Linked DNA regions of Homo sapiens: region 1 is linked to region 2. Evidence: promoter capture Hi-C in human tissues and cell types (Jung and others, 2019). All regions are on one chromosome and are shown on one strand. The core of a region is centred on a gene start or on the middle of the fragment in contact, and the rest is flanking DNA. Distances in the headings are between cores, read along the strand shown. Region 1 overlaps VPS51 (VPS51 subunit of GARP complex). Region 2 holds the start of CFL1 (cofilin 1).

Evidence for each region. Contacts are between HindIII fragments. The study calls those that stand out against the background at their distance.
Region 1: a fragment that was not itself captured here is called in contact with the fragment with the promoter of CFL1 in region 2 in 1 of the 25 tissues and cell types used here (spleen).

The regions. Positions count from the first base shown.
Region 1 is chr11:65,098,567-65,105,045 of GRCh38, reverse strand. All of the region lies in intron 2 of VPS51 (VPS51 subunit of GARP complex), which reads right to left. Among named protein-coding and RNA genes, the nearest start is that of VPS51, 5.6 kb to the right of the region's middle. RefSeq lists a silencer at 2,515-2,809. The HindIII fragment of the contact is 4,540 bases long and covers 2,877-6,479 here.
Region 2 is chr11:65,856,930-65,860,414 of GRCh38, reverse strand. It overlaps CFL1 (cofilin 1), which reads left to right and starts at 2,235. Exons shown (of 4, transcript NM_005507.3): 1 at 2,235-2,318. The coding sequence starts at 2,316. It also overlaps a transcript of MUS81 not described here. RefSeq lists enhancers at 240-329, 1,030-1,119, 1,680-1,749, 2,140-2,189, 2,123-2,663 and 1 more and silencers at 780-859, 2,270-2,669. The HindIII fragment of the contact is 15,299 bases long and covers 1-3,485 here.

The DNA.
Region 1 (6,479 bases), core at 3,897-6,396, 760 kb after region 2:
ATACCAAGAAAACACTAAATTGGTAAGGGCTTGGTGAATTCTATGGATGAAATGGATAATTTGCTACAAAAATAGGATTTACCAAAATGGATTGCAAAAAACAAGAAAACAGAAACAGAAAAACTAGAGAATGTTGTGAAAGAAAGGTCCTACTCCCCTTTCCCCTCCACACAAAGGCATCTGGCCCAGATGTCCAGGGGTGTTGCGGCGGCTTGAAGGACAGCGCCTTCCAATTCTCTGTGTAAACACTGCCCCAGCAGAGAAACGAGAACAGCTCTCACACAAACTTGATGGAACAAACATAACACTGTTATGAAAACATAACAGAAATACCTCACATATACACATTCATATCTCTTATGAATGGAGATGCAAGGATGAATTAAATAAACAAATGGAGATGCACAAATAAGCAAACAAAATCCAGCAGCATATTAAAATAATAATTGATAAACACAAAAGGGTTTTTGTTTCATGAATGCCAGGATGACTCAAAATTAGAGGATCTCATAATAATTTGCCATGTTAATAGATATTTCAACATCTATTCTTGATTTTTAAAAAACTCTCAATAACATATGAGCAGCTAAATATTTCCCTGACCTCCAAAACTCAGTATCATGTTTACCGAGGCAGTGCTAGAAGCACTCCAATTAAAGTCAAAACATGGCAAGGACAACCTTGATTGCCAATGTTATCTACATTGTTCTGGGGCATTAGCCAACTCAGCTAGAGTCACGAGATGTATTATGGAGATACACAAATTGGAAAGGAGGGAGAAGTATCACTATTTGCAGATGATATAATCAAATAAATAGGCCAGCCACGGTAGCTCATGCCTGTAATCCCAGCACTTTGGGAGGCCGAGGCAGGCAGATCACTTGACGTCAGGAGTTTGAGACCAGCCTGGCCAACATGGTAAAACCCTGTCTCTAGTAAAAATACAAAAAGTAGTTGGGCGTGGTGGCAGGTGCCTGTAATCCTAGCTACTGGGAAGGCTGAGGCAGGAGAATCGCTTGAACCCTGGAGGCACAAGTTGTAGTGAGCTGAGATTGTGCCACTGCACTCTAACCTGAGTAATAGAGCAACACTCTGTCTCAAATAATAATAATTGAATAAATAGAAAGCCCTAAAAAAAAAAAACAAAAAAAAACACCCTGTAAACGTTACTATAAACAATAAGAGATACCACTTTTCACTTCTCAGATTGTCAAAGATTGAAAGAGGTATTCTCTTCTTTGCTGGTGGTTATGCAAACTGATCAGCATTTACAAAGAAGAATCTGGAAATATCTAACTGCAATCACTTGTGAGCCTTCACACACCCACACCTGGTCTGTGTGTGGCTCTGGGACTGTAGGAATGTTCTCCAAGCAACACTGGGAATCTACCCCACTTGGGGAGACAGCTGGAAGGGTGAGTAAGGAGAAAAGCATTGATGTCAATTTGACAAGAAACAAACAGAAACAAAAAATGCAGGAAAAAAATATTAGAGAAAATATAAGAGAAAGAACTGTCTGAGACAAAGAATCTACAGGGCTCACATCTGTAGAGCTATTAAGGGATTTTTTAAAAAATTACATGGAAAGGTAGATTACGTATCAGCAAAATGGACTTTTCATTTTAACAACACAGTCCACAAGAAAGGATCATTTAGCCCTCTTAGAGATGATTTCATAGAAAGGAAGGTTACTAAGGAATAAAATCACATGATGTGAAACATCTATATTACTTTTGGGACCATAGGGACCATTGCCTGCATTTTGTTGGGGAAATCATAATTATTTTGAGTTTCTTTGCTTGAGATAGGGTCTTGCTCTGTCTACAGGCATGGTGATGCACACTTATAATCCCAGCTACTCAGGAGGCTAAGGCAGGAGAATCACCTTAACTGGGGAGGCGGAGGTTACAGTGAGCCAAGATGGCATGCAGTGGTGCAAACACAGCTTACTGCAGCCTTGAACTCTGGGGCTCAAGTGATCCTCCTACCTTAGCTTCTGAAGTAGCTGGGACTACACACAAGCGCCATCACACCCGGCTAATTTTTTAATTTTTGTTTAAATTTTGTGTAGAGATGGGGTCTCTCTATGTTGCCCAGGCTGGTCTCAAACTTCTGGGCTCAAGCAATGCTCCCACTTCAGCCTCCCAAAGTGCTGGGAGCACAGGAGTGAGCCACTGTGCCTGGCAAGAAAATTTTTCTTGCCAATTCATAGATGGTGAACTAAAGGACATAGCAAAGGCAGCGCTATGCAGTGAAAAACAATAAAAGCAGAGCCGAGGCTGAGGTTCGTAAAGGGATCATGGGCTACTGATCTAAGGGAGACAGACAGAGGCTTGGCAGTTGATGAGGCATTTGGTCTTCACCCAGTGAATTACTGGTTTTGTTTACAGGCCATGTGACACAATCTCCTTCCAGGTCTGCCAAAAGCTACCATGAAAAGAGCAGACTCTTTTGGTAGTGGGTGTTTGAGCCCATGACACTTAGGGGCTACCTCAAGAAGGAAGCTTGAATCCAACTTCTAAAGGGTAAAATCCAAACACTAAGTTGTTAGGAAAATAGAGTAAAAGAAAACCCAACAGTGCTGTGTGCTGTCATTGTCGCTGCCTTCCCAGCCATGGAGCCATTACACTGGAGATAAAAGTTGTACCATATCCAAAAACAACAGTGAAAGCATCCACACCATTCAGTCACAAAGACTACACTGTTTATCTTTGCATTTCAAGCTTGTTAAGAAAAGCAGGCTGGGCACAGTGGCTCACGCCTGTAACCCCAGCACTTTGGGAGGCCAAGGCAGGTGGATCACCTGAGGTCACCTGCCTGACCAACATGGTGAAATCCCGTCTCTACTGAAAATACAATAATTAGCCAAGTGTGGTGGCAGGTGCCTGTAATCCCAGGTACTTGGAAGCCTAAGACAGGAGAATCACTTGAACCCCGGAGGCGGAGGTTGCAGTGAGCCGATTGGGCCACTGCACTCTAGCCTGGATGACAGAGCAAGACTCTGTCTCAAAAAAAAAAAAAAAAAAAAGCTTGTTAAGAAAAGCAGTTTGTAACCAGGGAGAGTGAAAGCCATCTGGATGCGAGGATGTTGGCTACCTTGGGAGGGGACTGGGTGGTAACTGGTAGGAGGCTCAGGGGGCTTTGCTGGTTATGCTGTTTCCCGACCTGGATGCTGATTATGTGACTGTGCTCCCTTTGTGAAATCCATGGAGCTGTCCACTTATGTGCACTTTTCTGTATGTCTGTTAATTTTCTTTTTTTTTTTTTTTTTTTTTTTTTTTTTGAGACAAGGTCTGGCTCTGTCACCCAGGCTGGAGTGCAGTGACACAATCTTGGCTTACTGCAACCTCTGCCTCCCAGGTACAAGCCTTCCACCTCAGCTTCCTGAGCAGCTCGGACTACAGGGACACAACACCACACCCAGCTAATTTTTGTATTTTTTGTAGAGACAGGTATAACCTGTTGGCCAGGATGGTCTCGAACTCCTGAGCTCAAGCAATCTGCCTGCCTCTGCCTCACAAAGTGTTGGGATTATAGGTATGAGCCATAATCCCACCTGGGCTCTGTTAATTTTCAGTGAAATGTACTGTCAAAGACTGCTTTGTCTTTGCCTAGAGAAAAGAATTAGGAGAGGCTTTTCCCTGTATAATGTTTGAGATCTTTCTAATTTTGACACAAGTAAATGCATTATTACATAATGAAACTCAATGTCTAGGTGAGAGGTTGGCAAACTACAGCCTGCAGGCCAAATCTGGCTCAATGCCTGGTTTTCTTTTTAATTGGGATATAATTGACATACCAATTCAGTGGTTTTTAATATGTTTAATATATTCACAAGGTTGTACAACCAACCTCACTACGTAATTCCAGAACATTTCATCATCCCCTAAAGAAACCCTGTAACCCTTGGCAGTCATTCCTTATTCCCCCACTCCTAGAACTTGGCAACCATTAATCTAGTTTCTGTCTCTATGGATTTGTCTATTCGCTACAGAATACATTTAACAGAAATGGAATCATAGGCATATGAAACATTAGCATGTTTCCAAGGTTAATCTATGTTGTAGCCTGTGTCAGTATGTTATATCTATTTTTATGGCTGAATAATATTCCACTGTGTGGATATTTGTTTATATTCATTCAATTGATGGCCATTTGGATTGCTTCCACCTTGTGGCTATTATAAAAAGTGCTGCTATTGGCCAGGCATGGTGGCTCTTGCCTGTAATCCCAGTACTTTGGGAAGCCGAGGCAAGCGGATCACTTGAGGTCAGGAGTTCAAGACCAGCCTGGCCAACAAGGTGGAATCCCGTCTCTAGTAAATATACAAAAAATAAAAATAAAAAAATTAGGCGGGTGTGATGGTGCACACCTATAATCCCAGCTACTCAGGAGGCTGAGGCAGGAGAATCGCTTGAACTGGGGAGGCGGAGGTTACAGTGAGCCAAGATGGCACCACTGCACTCTAGCCTGGGTGACAGAGCTAGACTCCATCTCAAAAAAAAAAAAAAAAAAAAAAACACTGCTATGAACACTTGTGTACATGTTTTTATGTGAACATGTTTTCAATTCTCTTTGGTATATTCCTAGGAGTAAAATTGCCGATCATATGGTAATCTTGTGTGTGGTTTTGAAGAATGGTCAAACTGTCTTCCACACTGGGTGCAGCATTTTGTGGTTTGGATTTGCATTTCCCTAAGACCTAATGATGCTGAGCATATTTATATGTGCTTTTCGGCCACTTGTATGTTTTCTCTGGAGAAGTGTCTATTCAAATCCTTTGCCCATTTTAAATTAGGGTTATTTGTCTTTTTAGCCCTGAGCTAAAAAACGTTCTTTTTATGTTCTGAACACTAGATTTTTATTAGATAACTAACTTGCAAATATTTTCTCCCATTCTGTGGGCTGTCCTTTTATTATTATTTATTATTATTATTATTTTTGAGACGGAGTCTCGCTCTGTTGCCCAGGCTGGAGTGCAGTGGCGCGATCTCGACTCACTGCAACCTCCGCCTCCTGGGTTCAAGCGATTCTCCTGCCTCAGCCTCCTGAGTAGCTGGGACTACAGATGCCTGCCACCATGCCTGACTAATTTTTGTATTTTTAGTAGAGATGGGGTTTCACCATATTGGCCAGCCTGGTCTCAAATGCCTGACCTCAGATGATCCACCCGTCTCGGCCTCTCAGAGTGCTAAGATTATAGGCATAAGCCACCGCACCTGGCCTTTTTATTTATTTATTTATTTTTTGAGACTAGGTCTTGCTCTGTCACCCAGGCTAGAGTGCAATGGTGAGATTATAGCTCACTGCAATCTCCAGCTCCTGGGCTCATGTGATCCACCCACCTTAGCCTCCCCAAGTAGCTGGGTTTATTCTAACAAGTGTGTGCCACCATACCCAGCTATTTTTTTTTTTCTAGATATCGGGTCTCACTATGTTGCACAGGCTGGTCTCAAACTCCTGGGCTCAAGTGATCCTCCCACCTCAGCCTTCCAAAGTGCAGGGATTACAGGCATGAGCCACTGTGCTCAGCCCCATCCATTCCTGCCAGTGCAGCTGGAGGAATCTATTCAAACCAGAAATCTGAGCACATCACTCATTTGTTTTAGCTCTCTGTGGATAAAAGCCAAATCCCTAATACATTCTGGAAGGTTTCTAGTTAAACTGCACATCTACTATCTGCCTGGCTCTGCCCACATTCTGCTTCCCCTCCTGCTACCATAGATGAGCTCCCGGCCCTTTGCTGAGGCCGATGCCTCCATCCCTGCTCTGTTCCACCCCCCTCCTTCCTGAGGACCTAGTTCCTTTCTCATTTTTCTCTCTCTCTTGCCCAATCAACACACACTCCATGCTACATTACTTTCCTGAGTGTCTCGCCCAAGTCTATCAAATCTATGTCTTGAAACACCTTCCTCACGCAACCTCCACCTCCTGGGTTCAAGCAATTCTCCTGCCTCAGCCTCATGAGTAGCTTGGACTACAGGCATGCACCACCTTGCCCAGCTAATTTTTGTATTTTTAGTAGAGACAGGGTTTCACCATGTTGGCCAGGCTGGTCTTGAACTCCTAGCCTCAAGTGATCCACCCACCTCAGCCTCCCAAAGTGCTGGGATCACGGGTGAGAACCCCATGCCCGGCCCCTCACTTAAGCTTCTAAGACATCAATGCTCCTGGTTATCCTCACACTTTTCCAAACGTTTGTTCCTTTTGTGGGATGTACAAAAAGAGCTAAGTCTCAAAATATTATTATACACATTCCAACAAATGGAAAATGTAATCTTATTAAATTCCTGTGAGAAATATCCCAGCACAGAAACTATGATTTCTTGCCATTTTGATGCTGGTATTAGCTAACAGAAAGGTGCCTACTCATGGAATCTGCTTCAAATCAGATAAAAGAACAATGTGTATAGGTTACCACACCCACCACTGTGACACGAGAGTAAGACATCAGAATGCAACCCCACAGATGCTCCCAG
Region 2 (3,485 bases), core at 986-3,485:
GGGTCTTTGTGTAGGCGAGAGGAAGGCGGACAGCGCCCCCTGTGACGGGGAGGACTGGCTGGGCGGCGCTTAACGGACTAACCTGAGCTTGGCGGCTCTAAGGTCTCTTAAGATTGTCAGCTTCAGCCTCAAGCTTGAAGGAGGCTGGAGATGGAGACTGGTCTTGAAAAGAGTCCAGGAGAGGCGGGGGCTAGGAGACAAACGGGTGCAAACGTATTGGTGGGAGGGACACCCAGAAATGGGTGCCGGGGATGAGGACACAAAGGTAAGGCAGGAGGAGCTGCAGGACCCTTGGAGGAAATGGTGATCCTCATCCCCGGGATACAGGGCAAAGAGTGTGTGGTGGAGAGGAAGTCGGGGACGTGCCGAGAAGGCCCAAAATAGAACTCGGAATGTCGGGGGTCAGAGGCCTAGAGGAAGGAGGACTGTAAGTAAGAGGTGCTTGGGCATCCTGGCAGTTGGGGAGGCCTGAGATGGGCACGCGGTTGGGTTTGGGAGCGGAGGAGCAGGCTGCGGGTTAAGAAGCCCAGACACAGGTAGAGGGGAGAACACTTCGTCATTTTTGTGGCTAATCGGAAGTGGGAGACCCTCAGGGAGGTTGAAGATGGAAACCCTACAAAGGGCTTCAACCTGAGAAGCCTGAAAGACACGTATAGCTGAGTTGGACACAGGCGACCCGCCAGGGTTTGAAGCAGCACCCGGCCTCTAGCTGCTATGCCGGAAGTCGCAACACGCAGGTCTCCAGCCTGCGAGGAAGGGAGAGGTGGGCGCCAGAGCTCCAGTCCCGCCCCTCAGGACTGTGCCTAGCCCACGGCGCAGTAGCCCCAGCCAAGCTAAATTGGACCAATGGGCTCCGGCTCCCGCCTCCCGCCCGCCGCGGCCTTATAAGGAGCCTCAAGCCGGCTGTCGGGCTGGCCCCGCCCCCTCGAGTCTCTTGTCCTAATAAGGACATCTAGGGCATCCCGCGGCTGGGGGCGGGCGAGAGCGCGTCTCCAGGGTAACTGCGAAGCCCCCCTCTCTCTCCCCGTTGCTCTTGGAAACTCTAAGGCTCAGAAAAGGGGGCGCTAGCCTCATATTCATGTAGGGTCGCTCGCGGGAGGCGGGGTCAAGCTGCTGTCTCCACCTGGAGCGCCGGGAGTCCGGGCGGGGGCGGTGCTGTGGAATGTCCCCGACTACAACCCCCGGTATGCTCTGCAAGGTACCCCACTCCCAGGCATCGCTCTCCGTTTACACCCTTAATTCCGTTTATAGGATTAGGGCCCCCAGTTCCCTTTCTGGGTTTGCCTCTGACTTGTTTGCGACCCAGTCTTTTCCTGCAGAGTGTGAGGCTGTGGTCACTGTTCTAGAACAACAAAATCATCCCGGAGTCCCCCGCTCGTTTCTTTTTTTTTTTAAGGCATATACTACCACAGAACTTGTCTCAGTTTTGCGGATGTTAGAATAACCATGTACCTGGCTATCAACTCGAGAGCTGGGTTCAAGTCTGGTTTAATATCTATTTCTTCTCATTGGCACGTAAAGGCATGTAAAGAAGCCTTGAATTGAATGCACAAACCCTCGTCTTTACCCTTTAACGCCTCATGACTTTGCCAAACATCTTTAAACAAGAACAAAGCTCTCAGAGATTTCCTTGTACCTTTCCCCTGTGCCTTTTCCTCCTATTCTTGTTTTACTGACGTTGGACATGGCCTTTTTTCAGGAGACGAGAGTGGCTTTACACATGCAGAGTACTAGTGTTTATCCGACTGACGACGCCTTCATACTTGTGATTTCCTTTGCTTTAGGTCGGGATTCCAGGCTAATCAATAGTTGCTTCGATTCAGAAATGCAAAACCCTAACCTCACTCAAAAATTTCAGGCCAAGGGATCCAGATAATACCAGATGGGTCTTAAGAAAGCCGTTTTGCTGTGGGATAAAGAGCCGCTTAGTCGGGGATCGTTTTCGGGTCATTTTACTGAGCGCCGCCTCGCCGGGCTCAGAGCGGTTCCTGGGAAATTGGACCAATGGGCTCGCGCTGCGCGCTGCGGTGCCGCCCAGGACCTGGGCCTACATTTCCCTACATGCACTGCAGCTCGGAGCCGGCCGGCGGGAAGACTCCGTTACCCAGCGAGCGAGGCGGCGGCGCAGGGCCAGCGGACTCCATTTCCCGTCGGCTCGCGGTGGGAGCGCCGGAAGCCCGCCCCACCCCTCATTGTGCGGCTCCTACTAAACGGAAGGGGCCGGGAGAGGCCGCGTTCAGTCGGGTCCCGGCAGCGGCTGCAGCGCTCTCGTCTTCTGCGGCTCTCGGTGCCCTCTCCTTTTCGTTTCCGGAAACATGGTGAGCGGCAGGCCACGGCGCCTGAGGGAGGCGGCTGCGGGTCGGTCGCCTGCGCGCGGGAAGCGACTGGGGAGCGACGTCCGCACCCCCTCCCCCAGCGCCCCGGGCGGGATGAGGGTCTCGCACGAAGGGGCGGGCGGTGCCGGAATGCGCGTGCGCGCCCGTGGGCGCCGGGGAGGGCCGGTCTGGACGTCGCTCGCGCTCCGCCTGGGCTCCCCTCCCCCACCCGCTGGTGCGCCCGCGCGGACACCGGCCGCGGGGGGAGGGGTTCGGGGCGCGCGCTGGGGCGCCCCTCGCGGAACGGCCGGCGTCGCGCCTTTCTTCTTAGGGGCGCGCTCTCGACTGGAGCATGCGGCGTCCAAACCCGGCCCGGGGGCGGCGAGGAAAAAGCGCGCGAGAGGTCTCGGCGCGCGCGCCCCACCCAAGGCTGTTCCTGTCTGCGCGTCACCCTCCCTCGGCAGCCGGGTCCGTCTCGGGAGCAGGTGGCAGGGATGCCTGCGCCCGGGAGGGGCGGGTGCTGGCGCGGCGAGGGGTGATGCTGGGAAGACGGGGTCCCGGTTGGGGCGTGGGTGCCTGCGATTAAGGCCTTGCACCGCAAGGCTTGGAGGGGGCATCGCAGAGACCGCGGCCCGTTCGGGAGCGCATCTAACGAGCTGCGTTCTCACCCGTGCATCGGGCGAGGGCTGGAACGGCGCTGTCTGTCGGCGCGTGCGCGCACGCTCAGGCCCGGCCGCCGGTGCCGAAGCCCTGGGCCAGCGAGGCCTTCCCGGATGGGCCTGAGTGAGGGTGGAGCCGAGTTTAGGGAAGTGACCCAGGCGGGCACCGCCCGGAAACCACCCCGCCCCCTGTATACGGCCCGAGGGCTGAGAAAACCGAAGGTTATGTAGCTTGCCCAGGCTCCTGCCTGCAGGAGATGGGTCTGATACACCCGTTGTTTTAGGGCGATTCCACAGGGTTAGGGACCTGGAGATGCTGCTGCCTCTCGGATACGCGTTTCTGCATTGGTGAGGGGGCCGGGCCCAGCCGATCTCCTGTCCCCGCCCACTCCGGATGCGGCCGAGTCACGTGGCCGGCTTCTTCTGCAGTTCCGGGGAGTTTGGGGGACCAGATTTACCTTGGATTGCCCCTCCCTCTCCTGGCTCGGGCACCCCGAAGCACGACGCAGAG